4 separate regions of the Homo sapiens genome follow, and all the other regions are linked to region 4. The links are contacts of gene promoters, found by promoter capture Hi-C in blood cells and fetal thymus (Javierre and others, 2016). All regions are on one chromosome and are shown on one strand. Each heading gives the region's core, a stretch centred on a gene start or on the middle of the fragment in contact. The rest is flanking DNA. Distances are from core to core; before and after follow the strand shown. Region 1 holds the start of TMBIM1 (transmembrane BAX inhibitor motif containing 1). Region 2 holds the start of ZNF142 (zinc finger protein 142). Region 3 overlaps STK36 (serine/threonine kinase 36). Region 4 holds the start of GLB1L (galactosidase beta 1 like).

What was found. Contacts are between HindIII fragments. The CHiCAGO score rates a contact against its expected background, and 5 or more counts as called.
Region 1: a contact is called between the fragment with the promoter of TMBIM1 here and the fragment with the promoter of GLB1L in region 4, in 1 of 17 cell types (naive CD8 T cells). The highest score is 5.5, in naive CD8 T cells.
Region 2: the fragment with the promoter of ZNF142 here is called in contact with the fragment with the promoter of GLB1L in region 4 in 1 of 17 cell types (non-activated CD4 T cells); the score reaches 5.3 in non-activated CD4 T cells.
Region 3: a contact is called between a fragment that was not itself captured here and the fragment with the promoter of GLB1L in region 4, in 2 of 17 cell types (total B cells and total CD8 T cells). The highest score is 6.2, in total B cells.

What each region holds. Positions count from the first base shown.
Region 1 is chr2:218,290,875-218,293,973 of GRCh38, reverse strand. It overlaps TMBIM1 (transmembrane BAX inhibitor motif containing 1), which reads left to right and starts at 1,471. Exons shown (of 12, transcript NM_022152.6): 1 at 1,471-1,508. The region is part of intron 2 of PNKD (PNKD metallo-beta-lactamase domain containing); the gene reads right to left. RefSeq lists enhancers at 1-793, 976-1,938, 1,939-2,903 and a silencer at 1,214-1,693. The HindIII fragment of the contact is 24,107 bases long and covers 1-3,099 here.
Region 2 is chr2:218,657,756-218,660,872 of GRCh38, reverse strand. It overlaps ZNF142 (zinc finger protein 142), which reads left to right and starts at 1,250. Exons shown (of 11, transcript NM_001379659.1): 1 at 1,250-1,504; 2 at 1,743-1,893; 3 at 1,997-2,172. It overlaps BCS1L (BCS1 ubiquinol-cytochrome c reductase complex chaperone), which reads right to left and starts at 1,190. Exons shown (of 8, transcript NM_001079866.2): 1 at 1,130-1,190. RefSeq lists enhancers at 1,067-1,196, 2,007-2,126. The HindIII fragment of the contact is 10,571 bases long and covers 1-2,141 here.
Region 3 is chr2:218,701,023-218,704,089 of GRCh38, reverse strand. It overlaps STK36 (serine/threonine kinase 36), which reads right to left. Exons shown (of 27, transcript NM_015690.5): 27 at 1,375-2,224. The coding sequence ends at 2,081. Among named protein-coding and RNA genes, the nearest start is that of TTLL4, 8.3 kb to the left of the region's middle. The HindIII fragment of the contact is 889 bases long and covers 1,036-1,924 here.
Region 4 is chr2:219,243,890-219,246,778 of GRCh38, reverse strand. GLB1L (galactosidase beta 1 like) reads left to right here and starts at 1,335. Exons shown (of 17, transcript NM_001286423.2): 1 at 1,335-1,550. STK16 (serine/threonine kinase 16) reads right to left here and starts at 1,300. Exons shown (of 8, transcript NM_001330213.2): 1 at 983-1,300; 2 at 694-883; 3 at 1-122. The coding sequence starts at 779. RefSeq lists enhancers at 1,159-1,588, 1,037-1,619. The HindIII fragment of the contact is 6,920 bases long and covers 1-2,889 here.

The sequences.
Region 1 (3,099 bases), core at 222-2,721, 950 kb after region 4:
GGGGGCAGTTTTTAAAAATCTGTCTTTTTTTTTTTTTTTTTTTTTTAAATCTCTGTTTTGGGGCTGGACGTGGTGGCTCATGTCTGTAATCCTAGCACTTTGGGAGGCCAAAGTGGGCTGACTGCTTTGAGCTCAGGGGTTTGAGACCAGCCTATGCAACAACGTGAAAACCCATCTCTACAAAACAAACAAACCAAACAAAACAAACAAGCAAACAAACAAAATTAGCTGGGTGTAGTGGCACACACTTGTAATCCCAGCTACTCAGGAGGCTGAGGCCGGAGAATCACTTGAAACCAGGAGGAGGATGCAGTGAGCCGAGATGGCGCCACTGCACTCCAGCCTGGGTGACAGAGCGAGACCCTGTCTGGAAAAAAAAAAAAAAAAAAAAAAGGACATTCAGTGGTGGTGTGGTGCTGACCTATAGCTATTAACATGAGATAAGCACTTTAAACAGAGTTGGTCAACTACTGGCAGCCTTGGTGTCATGGAAAGAACTTGGACTTTGGAACCACAGAAACTCAGGCAAGGCTCGGTAATGTTTCTCTTTTTAAATTGAGACAAGGTCTCTCTATGTTGCCTAGGCTGGGTCTCCAACTCCTGGGCTCAAGCCATCCTCTGGCCTTGGCCTCCCAAAAGTGCTAGGATCGCAGGTGTGAGTCACCATGCCCAGGCTCCAGTAATATTTCAGAACTTCCTCAAAACTGTTTCCTCCTTTGCTACTGCATTCTTCACTGAGATGAGGGTTAAGACCTACCTAACAGTAGTAATCTACATCTCAATGTAGGACTTCTGAATTCTGACTTGAGGAAAGCACCTGCTTTCCTGGTTGAGTAATTATAAACAGAGATTCTAGGTTTGCATGTTTGCAGTTTTAAACTCGAAAAGTGCATTTATCTCAAAAACACAGAATTATCAAGGATTTTAATTACTGATTTATTTGTAATGTAAAAATGGGAAACAAACGGCCTCCAGTAGGAAATTAATTTAATCCGCATAGCCATGCAATGGAATACTTCACGGCATTAAGATTGTGCTTTTGAAGACTATTTAGTGAGAAGAAAAATGTTCATCATAAAACAGTAAAAAGAAGGGCAGTAAACAAAACACCATACAATATACCCCACTGTAGAAAAACAAAATACATACAGAAATGTAATAGCCAAAGAAGGACCCAAAGCGAACGCTTCCCCCTGGGAACTAGGAGGGGTGGAGAGAAATTACTTTCTTCCCTGCATTTCTGTGTCTTTTCTAGCTTCCTATCAGTATCATGTATTGCCTTTAAATCCGAAAATACCCCTGTGTTATTAGTGAGGCGTCGTCGGGGCTCTGAGAGGCGCGCGCGCCCGGGACAGACCCCTGCGCCCCCTGGCGGCGCCCTGAGGCCCCGCCCCACGAGGCCGGCGCGACGGGGCGGGGCGCGGAGCCCCAGCCGAGCCTAGCCCTGCCCGGCCCCGGAGGACTTGCAACACTCCGAGGCCAGGAACGCTCCGTCTGGAACGGCGCAGGCAAGCCAGGGGGCCGGGGCCGGCGCCGTTGGGGACTGTGGGCGGTGGGGACTGGTCCAGGGCTGGGGCGGCCATGCGCCGGGGCGCCTAAACTTTTCGGAGCGCGCTCCCGGCTTGCCCGCTCCTGGGCCCAAGGAGCCCGTTCCAGATGGGGATCTCCCCTCCTGGCCCTTGGCGTTTCGCTCTCCCTGGGCGCGCGGGTGGGCGGCCGGGTCTGTGGCACCTGGTTAGCCTTGGGAGCCCAGCAGCGTGTTGTGGGCACTGGTGAGCGGAGCCAGGGTCTGGGGGTGTCCTCGTGTTCCCTCTTTCGGGCACGAGTGGCCTCTCTGTCGCAGGGCCTATCCACCATGCCAGCCCGAGTGGCCAGCTGTGTGGGATGAGGGCTTTCATGGCCCTCAGCTGGTGAGAAGAGGGAAGAGGGAGGGGAGACAGCCAGGGCCTGGCACGGACCCCAGGTTGCCCCCACACGCGCTGAGGCCAGTCTCGGTGTAGACAGGTGAATATTTAAGGGGTGGGGAAGGGGGGGTCCTAGCTTGCAGCTGGGGCAGAAGCCAATGAGCAGCTCAAGTGTTTGGCATGGGGAAGTGGCCACCTCTATCACCATGACTTTGCCCTCTGCCAGTCCCACTTCCAGCCACTGTTTCCCGGCTGGGTTCACAGAACTACAGGGGAGTAACATCCTCCTCGTGACTTCTTTGGGTTAGAGTGAAAACAAAACAGAGAAACGGGAAAAGGGAAAGCAAGTGGAGAGACTGGGGCAGGAGCCAGGGACCAGTGGGAGGAAGCAGAGGGAGGCTGCTGGGAGGCCAGGCCCTGGCCTTGTGGGGTCGGCACCAATTCTTGTCCTATGGGGTCTCCATCTCCTCTCCCTCCTCTGTGGCCTCTACGTGGTACCCAGGAGTTTGGGGTTCTACCTGAGCACCCTGGACATGGGATAAGTAGGCCTGGGAACGCAGGTCAGAGCCAGATGTCATGGAAGGGCCCTCAGGTGTCCAGTTCTCTGGGCTCTGAAATATTCATCTCATTAGTGAGCTTTGGTTTCCAAGCTGGCGACTTTGGGCTGGCCAGTGGTGGCAGGGGAGCCAGGTGCCTCCTGGGGCTGCTTTATTGGCGCAAAGGGGGAGCCATACTTCCTTCTCACCTGCCTCCTCTCTCTGTCTCTCCAGTCATGAGGATCCAGAGAACCAGTTTATAGCTTAAATGGAAGAGGCAGGACCACAGTGTCAGGGGCCCTGTCTTTCTGTGCTATGACCTCAAGGCCTCACTTGTAAAAATGAGCCCTTCAGAGAGGTAATGATGGGTTATCCTGTAAGTGTTGGGAGAGCCTCATGTCATGAGCTGGGGTAATAGCCACCTGGGCTCAGCCTCCTCCCCTGGGAATGGGTGCCTCAGCCAGACGCTGTCTACCTCAGAGCACCTCCAACCGCAGGCCTCACCCTGGGCCTTTCAGAAAAAGCAGAAGCCACAGAGAAGGGAAACACACATACTTGTGTGTTTTCAGAGGGCTGAACTGGGACGACCAGAGAGTGGAAGCTCATACAATTCTCTGGGAAGAAGTTCTGCTAACAACATGTCTGATCATGACATGGGC
Region 2 (3,117 bases), core at 1-2,500, 590 kb after region 4:
CCACAGGTCAGCATTACTGTGTGGGTCAATACCCTCCTTTTGTGGGGTAAGGGTGGTATTGGAATGCAAGGGTGGAGGCTCCAGGTCCCTCATCCCATTTTGTCCTTCATTAGTCTACTCATACCTGTTTCCTACCAGAGGACCATGTCTGGAGATGCCTTAAACCAAAAAGAGCTATATAAACAGGCTTCACATCAGGGTAATGGATGGACAGGATTTTTGTGGTCCCTGGGACCAGCTATGATAAAAAGGGGTCCATTGGCTGCAGTCAGCAAGGGAGAAGCGTCCGTTGACTTGTCAGTAACCCTATGTCTTGTTATGAGTAATGTCCTTCAAATATCCTCCCCCTTACGTCCCCAATATTTAACGTCTTGTTTAGACCTTTATTACCTCCCACCTAAACTGTCTTTAAAATCGTAGTTCTTGAAATGGCATTTTAATAGGTCTTCACCTCCTGCTTCACGGAACATCTACACAAGGGTCCAGATCTTTCATCATAGGGATCAGCTCCAATACCATATCTCTCTCTGCTCCAGCACCTTCAATGGCTGGCTCCCAGCAGACCCCTGAATTGGGTATAAACTCAGCCTGGTACTCAAGGCTCTCTACAATACGGCGCCCACCTACCTTTCATGGATTAGCTCCTAACACTACCTGTTTAGCAAATATGCAAATACGCAACAAATATGTTCAACAAGTAAGCAACCTCCCAACTCCTTGCTCATGCAGTGCTCTTGGCTCGGAATGCCCGTTCTTTTCTCCCTCATTCTCCCCAAATGAAAATCTGCCCATCTGCTACTTTCTCCACGGATCGTCACATCGTAGACAATAAGATCCTGAGGGACAAGAGCAAAGTTGTTTCTAGTACACCTCTCCTCCAACCCCGAACCCCGGCCACTTTGCCCTGCGCCTGGCATGCAGGGAGGTGAGCTGACAGCAGTGACCTCGGCTGAGCCTCAGAACTGGGATCCAGAATTCCAAAACACCTATGCATGGAAGGCCACAGACAAAGCTCTCCCGTCCCCGGCCCCTCCGCGACACCCAGGAACCCCCTCCTGAACCTCGCCCACACCCCAGCTCGCGCCTCCAGCCACATGGTTTGGGGTAACCCGTCACTCAGCCCTCTCACCGCCGTGACTCTCTGGCCCTCCGTCTCGATGGTTTCACCGCGCCTGCACCTTGGGGAAGCTGCGTTCGGCCCCGCCCCGGGTCCTTTCATCTACTTCCCGCCACACCCACAGAGAAGCCCACGCCACTCTACCCCAGAGCTCTCGATGGTGCTTCTCCGGCTTCAGGGCTGGAGTGGGGGTGGAGGGCGGGAAAAACCACAGAGACAAAACATAGAGTACCCCGGCAGCCGGCAAGAGGAAGAGAGAGTGGCTTCCACATCCCCAATATCCTAGAGGCGGCTGAGCCGGAGGCGGTCGCACAAAGCGGGCCCCGGGGGCCGTTCCAGCCGCGGCCGACCATAGAGATGCGGCTCCCGCCGGCTCTGGGTCTGGAGGTGAGTGAGCGGCTGCGGGGCGGAACTGGGAAGGGAATGCGGGTGGAGCGAGCTGGAGGCAAAGTTTTTCGAGCCCCGGGATCAGGGTGGGCCTGGGCGCTGGGAACTCTCGGAAGGAGGTACTGAAGGGAGCACCCAGACGAGCTGGGCCCCGGCGCTGCAGTCGCGTCACGGTTCTGGACCCCGCCCGGGTACCTGCTGCTCTCAGGACAAAATCATGACGATGCTCCATCCCAAGCCTTCCAGGTTACAAACCGCCTTTCCAGTTCGCTGGCTCTTATGATCCAGCTCCTGCCCGACGATGTGGACACTGTCATCACCTCCATTTTACAGATAGGAAAGCTGAGGCCCAGAGAAGCGAAGCGACTGTGTCTGTCCAAGACCACGCGGTGAGTCAGAGCCAGAGGCAGGTGGGAACCTGGGTCGCTAGGCCGGGGCCCGTTGTTTCTCCAGGCCTTCTCTCTGCCTTAGTCTGTCCTTTCTCTTCCTCAGCCCTCCTGCCCGGAAGATAAGCGTATTTCTTCTCTGGTGCCCACCTGTCTCCTACCTCACCCTGCCCTCCCGCAGGTGAAGGTTCTTAATCTTGACGGCTCAGCGTCCTCCTTGGCTCCCCCCGGAGGCCATGTATGGTCAAGCTTGAAGATTCCCCAGAACAGCGATAATATTCAGTAAGTGGAGGCTGCAGTTTCCAGAGAATCCCTCTGACCACGGGAGTGCACTTTCCAGCCACCTTGTGAATCCCTGTGATCTGTTGTTTTGAGTCCATGGGATTCTGGAAATAGGGACTATCAGATTGCAGGATCTTGGTTTTTGTTTGTTTTTTTTTTGAGACGGAGTTTCGCTCTTGTTGCCCAAGCTGGGGTGCAATGGTGCGATCTCGGCTCACTGCAACCTCCGCCTCCCGGGTTCCAGCGATTCTCCTGCCTCAGCCTCCCGAGTAGCTGGGATTACAGGCGTGTGCCACCACACCCTGCTGATTTTTTGTATTTTTAGTAGAAACAGGGTTTCACAATGTTCGCCAGGCTGGTCTCGAACTTCTGACCTCAGGTGATCGGCCCGCCTTGGCCTCCCAAAGTGCTGGGATTACAGGCCTGAGCCACCGCGCCCGGCCTGGTTTCTTCTTCTTTTTTTCTTTTTGCATCTTGTCTGTGACTCAATTTCATGAAGTGATTCCCATCATTCTTATTAATTACTAATTATTCAGCTTAAACTCATTTTAGCCATGTATAACAGGGTATGCAATTCAATTGTCATTCATTCCTCAGTTATGTTCCCATATTTAGTTTGAGGCCATAGTCAGTTAATGAGTTTGAAATTTCTCCAAATGTGTTACGTTATAGGTGAGGAACCACTGGTTTTGTACAAGATACCTAGCTTTACTCCAATGCAGCTCCATATCTGTGGTTCTTCACTGGAATCTTCGATTGTGGGTGATTTGTGTTCGTTGAAGTGATAATGTCAGTATCACAAAGTAATATCATTGAAGTGATAATGTCAACAAATTACTAAAAAAGCTATACATCTAGGGAGAGAGACTGACAGGTAAACAACAGTGCAGTGTGACCTCGTTTCTGATAGGGCTGTGTACAGAGTGCCCTTAGGACGCCAGAAGA
Region 3 (3,067 bases), core at 231-2,730, 540 kb after region 4:
CCAATTGCTCAGACCAAAAACCTTGGAGTCATCCCTGACTGCTTTCTTTTGGTCATACCCTCACCTCCAATCAGTCAAGAAATCCTGTTTGTTCCATGTTCAAAATATATTCAAAATTTGACTACTTTTTTATCACTCCATAGGTATCACCCCAGTCGCCATCCAGGACACCATTGTCTCTTGCCTGGATTATTATAACAATAGCCTCCTAACTGCTTATCCTACTTCGCATTCTCCCCTACTCCCCATAGCCATTCACAAGACCAGAATGAAGAATGATCCGTTTAGGATGCAAGGTAGTTCATAAAATTCTCTGTTCAAAAGCCTGCAATAGATGCCTCCTTCATTCAAAGTAAGAGCCCAAGTCTTCACCAAGGTCTACAAAGCCTACAATATCTGGCCCCCACCATTACCTTCCTGTCTCATTTCCTACTATTCTCCACCTTCTTTACTCACTTAATCCATACTGGTTCCTCATAGCTCCTCAAGCATGCCAGGCATGCTTTCATCTCAGGGCCTTGGCTTTTCCCCAAAATAGGTGCACAACTCACTCCCTCGCCTCCTTCGAGTCTTTTCTCAAGTGTCACCTTCTAGTGAGGCCTACCCTGACCATCCGACTCAGCACTCCTCATCTCCTTTCCCTGGTTTCTTTTTCTCCATAGCTTTTACCACCTTCCTACATACTATTCTTTTAATAATTTCACTATCTCCCCGACCAGAATGGAAACTCTATGATGGGCACTGTTTTATCTCCTGTACCTAGAATAGTATCTGGCATACAGAAAGGACTCAAAAAATATACATTGAACTGAATTGAGATAATCTGGATAGAAGAAAATTATGGTGCTCCCTAGAAAAATATTATTTTTGCTAAAGTATAAACACTGTGGACAATGAAGATGAGGGTTAAACAAAATTTCTTATAAAAATAAGGGCACTTTACTTGTCTTTCATTTCTAAAACAACTGGAATTTAAGGAAGGACAGAAAGGAGTCTCCTCATTTTATGGATGGAGAAATCAAGGCCCTGGAAGCTTGTTCTAAGCCATCCAATGAGTTAAGGTTTTCCAATGCTTCCAGTTAGATTATAATTCTAACAGGTCTGACTAAAAGCCCTTTCTGGTAAATTGTACAATCTTTAAAATAGCTATCCTTCTACAGCAGCTTGGAGTCCCTACACATTAGAACTCCACTAAATATTAAAATTAGTCACTAAGTCTGAGCAACCTAATTGACCGCTCTGTTGAATCTTACCCTTTCCTATTTCAGCTCCACCGGCCTTGACTTGAAAGTAGGTAACCAAATATAGTTCATCTAGGAAGGGGGAAATTGGTAAAGGCAAGAAATGATATAAATAAGCTGCCAGACCAGGATCTTGTGTGAACACGATACCAGCACCTCCAACACCACATAGAAGCTGAAAGAGGGGTTGAGCCTCTCAACCCTTGTCCTGGGAGCTTCAAGTATGGTGAGGCACAACTTTTATTAAAAGAGTTTACAAACAGAACTATTAAACACACACACACATACACACACACATATACACACACACCCCAAAAAAAGATACACTCTCCACGCCCACCCACAGATAGGAATGTTGGCTAAGGGATAATCCCTCAATAACAGGGACTGATGGCATTGATCCCCACAGCCTAGAGCTGAGACAGGCTCTGTCTTCATCACTGTCCTGGGGCCAGCACGTCTAAGGCAAAAACCTGCTGGGAAGATTAAAGGAGCTCCAGAAAGGAAGAGATCTTTCAGGTTGAGGTTTTTCCCTAAGGTCCGTGAGGCAGGTCCCTAGAGTTAAAGGCACATTATTGGAGAAAAGGCCCCTGGATGTAGAGAAGAAAGGACTCTTCTCTGGCACCAACAGCAATAAAATTTACTGGTTGAAAACATCCTGCATCTGGGAGAAGGAAGAAGCTTTATATATAAATCTCTTCTAGTTTCTTGTTCTCAGTTGAGTTGGCAGCTTATCTCTTTTCTAGTCTCTTTAGCTCTCAGTTGAGTTGGCGGCTTGTGTAGTAGAATAAGAAAGAGCTGGCAACCAAAGTTGGAGGCTGGACCGCAGGAATCTGGAATCACATGCTATGGGCTGGCCTCAGGAGGTGAATGAGTTTCCTGCAGTGTTTGGCAGAGGCAGGCCTAGGACTGCTGTGTGGCAGTGACTGATTCCCCAGAGAGAGCAAGGATAGTTTCTCACTGGCACCCAGGGACACCAGTACCTGTAGGATAGAGAACAGATGATAGAACAGAACATGAGGCTCAGAAATGGTGGTGTCTGGGGCAGGTGCGGAGGACTCTCATTTACCCAGGAATTCCCACTCGAGAAGAGGAAGAAAAAGGAAATGGGCTCTTGGGGACTTGGAATAGACTGAATGGCAGAAGAGAAACCTTGGAGATAGGAATCATCAGGACCAGAAGTCTACTTCCATTCTCTTTGGTTATAGACCATGAAACCAAGGCACTAAGGGACACATATACTTGTCCCCAGGAAGACTTGATGAATGCAGCAGTAACTCACAGTAAGCCAAAAGGTCTAATTCCTAGCCTTCAATGCAGACCAGTGAGTTCTAACCTCATTACCACCAAGAATCCCATTAATTATTTTCCCCATGGATTGCACAAGATTCCTATAGGATCTTCACCATCGGCCAGGCAAGGTGGCTCATGCCTGTAATCCCGTACTTTGGGAGGCCAAGGCGGGCGGGTCACGAGGTCAGGACATCGAGACCATCCTGGCTATCACGGTGAAACCCCGTCTCTACTAAAAAAAAAAAAAATACAAAAAATTAGCTGGGTGTGGCGGCAGGTGCCTGTAGTCCCAGCTACTCGGGAGGCTGAGGCAGAATGGCGTGAACCCGGGAGGCAGAGCTTGCAGTGAGCCAAGATCGCGCCACTGCACTCCAGCCTGGGGGCGACAAAGTGAGACTCCGTCTCAAAAAAAAAAAAAAGATCTTCACCATCCTCTCAAATTTCTGCTCTGCATGAACTTCCCAATGCTACCACTTTGAGATGTCATAATTTATATTACCATATGTAGATATCTGTGATTTCCAATGGGCTTT
Region 4 (2,889 bases), core at 86-2,585:
GATGCATGTCGGCTTCTCGCTGGGCCTCCTCCCGGTCCTGCTGCTCGTGACACAGGATTCGCTTCAGGGCGTAGAAGTGTCCATCATGTAACCCTTCCACTAGGTCCACATAGCTGAACCCACTGTGGGCCAAAGGGGTCAATAAAGGGCCATGGTCATCTCCCACATGGCTTGGACCTAGAGAAATTTCCTGGTGGGGAGTGGGGTGTCCTTCCCATTTAGCAGAAACCTTCCCAAGATGTGGCTCTAAGAGAAATCTGAAGAATATTACACCGTGAGCTCCTCAGGAGCAGAGATATAGAAATCTTTGAGGTCCTATGGTCGTAATAGAGACCTCTGCACTTGACAGATGCTAAATAAATAATAGCCAACACTTATCAAGTACTTGTCAACCCCGCATTGGGTGAGACATTTTATACACATTATCTCATTTAATCCTCACAACTCCATCAGTGAGGGATAATAATCATCTCCATTAAGCTGATGAAAAAAACATGGTTTATCAAGGTCACACGAGGTGGATTTAGCAGGCCTGGCTCCAGAATCCACCTTCTTGATACTGTGTAGCTAGGTTCTGTCAGGTGAGAGAGGACAGGGATAGGGATAAAACCCTTGTGCCCCAAGCATATGCACACCGCTGTCCTTCAATGATCATAAACTTGAGGACTAGTTAACTGACTTCCAAACACTCACCCCTCCCCCAGTTTCTGGATGAAGAGGTAGCGCTTATTGTCAATGATGACAGTTCCCCGAGAGCAGACACACAGCGCGTGGCCCATAATGTCTCAGTCATCCTCTTCAAGGACGGTCTGAGGCTACCGAAGAGCTCGTCCAGGGTGAGTGGGCTCTTCCAGGAGATGCGCTGGGGGCCCAGCGGATCATGCTGGAAAGAAAACAACGGCAGGGTCACAGGTCCGGCACAATCCAGACGACCCATGAAGTACCAATGCGGAGAGCTCAGGCCCAGGTCTCTGGAACCTACACTATAGTGTAGAGAAAACAGGCCCTGCTCCGTCGCCAGCTTCAGGGGTGGGGTCAGGCGCCTTACGGCCTCAGGACACACAGCGGCTACCGGGCCACTTCCTCCAACCCCAGCCCATCTTTGGGCAGCCCCCGCTCCCACGCCCATCGCGCCGCAAAAGCAGAGCATAGCGTAGTTTCAGAGGACGTGCGAGGCTCAGGCCCACTCCTGGCAGGGCCCACCCCGGTCTAGGAGCCCAGAGCCCGGGATGGGCCATCTGCACTGCCGGACTGACCTGGCTCGGGCCAGAGAGAAGCGCCACCGACCGGAAGCAGTGCTGACATCATCAGTCCGCGCCGGCGTAACGGCCCGCGGTATCTCAGCAACCGCTGGGCATCCGGAGGATGTGGGGACGCGGAGCTGAGAGGCTCCGGGCTAGCTAGGTGTAGGGGTGGACGGGTCCCAGGACCCTGGTGAGGGTTCTCTACTTGGCCTTCGGTGGGGGTCAAGACGCAGGCACCTACGCCAAAGGGGAGCAAAGCCGGGCTCGGCCCGAGGCCCCCAGGACCTCCATCTCCCAATGTTGGAGGTAGGAGGCTTCATACCTCTGGCGCTCTGGGGCAGAAAGCGGCCAACTACACTGCAGCCTGGAGGGGGATCCAGTGAGGGGCGGGTCTGGTGGCCTGGTCTCCTGATCCCGTACAACCTTCTGGGCTCTGGCCTGTATCCCACTACCCCTAGTCTCAGTGGTTAAGAGCTCAGGCTTGTGAACCAGACTTCCAGTTTCTAAATTGAGTGTTAATAGCATGCTAGCTGTGTAACCTCGGGCAAGTTACTTAACCTCTCGGATCCTTACTTTTGGTAGCTGTAAAATAGGTATAATAGTACATAAGGTTAAGTAGCTTAACTGTGAGGCCAGACTGACTAGTTCAAATGACAGCTCCGTTAACGTAGTTGTGTGACCTTGGACAGGCTACTTAATGTTTCTGTCCTTTCCTCTCCTCCTCTGTAAAATGGAAATAATTATCTACCTCATGGAGTTGAAGATTAAATGAGATGTACAGTGTTTAATACAATATCTGACACATAGCCTTCAGTACGTGTCAATAAACCGTAATTATTATTACCCTGATCTTCACATCCCATTCTTGAGACTGTAAAGGCAAAAGGAACGGAAATTCACAGATTTTCGAGCTTTGGCACAAAGCAGTTGTCCTTAATATCTGTTGCGGAGGCAGGCAGGGGTAAGCTGGAGAGGGGTGCACTTCCAAAGAAGGTGGAATGGCCAGGAGGGAATGGCTGTTTTGCTGAAACAGGACTCTCCAGGAAAGAGGTCCTTCTTGTGACCTGGTTCCTCCCTTCCACACCCCGGATCACCCTGAAGATTTTCCAATGGTTTCCCCTGGTTCTGAACCTGTTTTAGCCTTTTGGTTATGACATTGATTCATCCAGATTTAACCTACTATATACCCGGCCCTGTGCTAGAGGCTGAGGATTTGAGATGAACAGGGCACTCCCTGTCCTCAGGGAGCCCAGTCAAGTAAAGCCATGCTTCTCAATTTTGAAGGTGCCTAGGATCACCTGGGAATCTTGTTAAAATACAAATTCTGATTCTATAGGTCTGAGGTAGGATCTGAGATTTTACATTTCTTTTGTTTGTTTGTTTGTGTTTTTTGAGACAGAGTCTCGCTCTGTTGCCCAGGCTGGAGTGCAGTGGCAGGATCTCGGTTCACTGCAACCTCCGCCTTCCGGGTTCAAGCAATTCTCCTGCCTCAGCCCCTACCCCCACCCCCACCCCCACCCCCACCCCCACCCTCGGAGTAGCTTGGAATACAGGCGCGTGCCACCAGGCCCGGCTAATTTTTGTATTTTTAGTAGAGACAGGGTTTTGCCCTGTTGGCCAAGCTGGTCTTGAACTCCTGACCTCA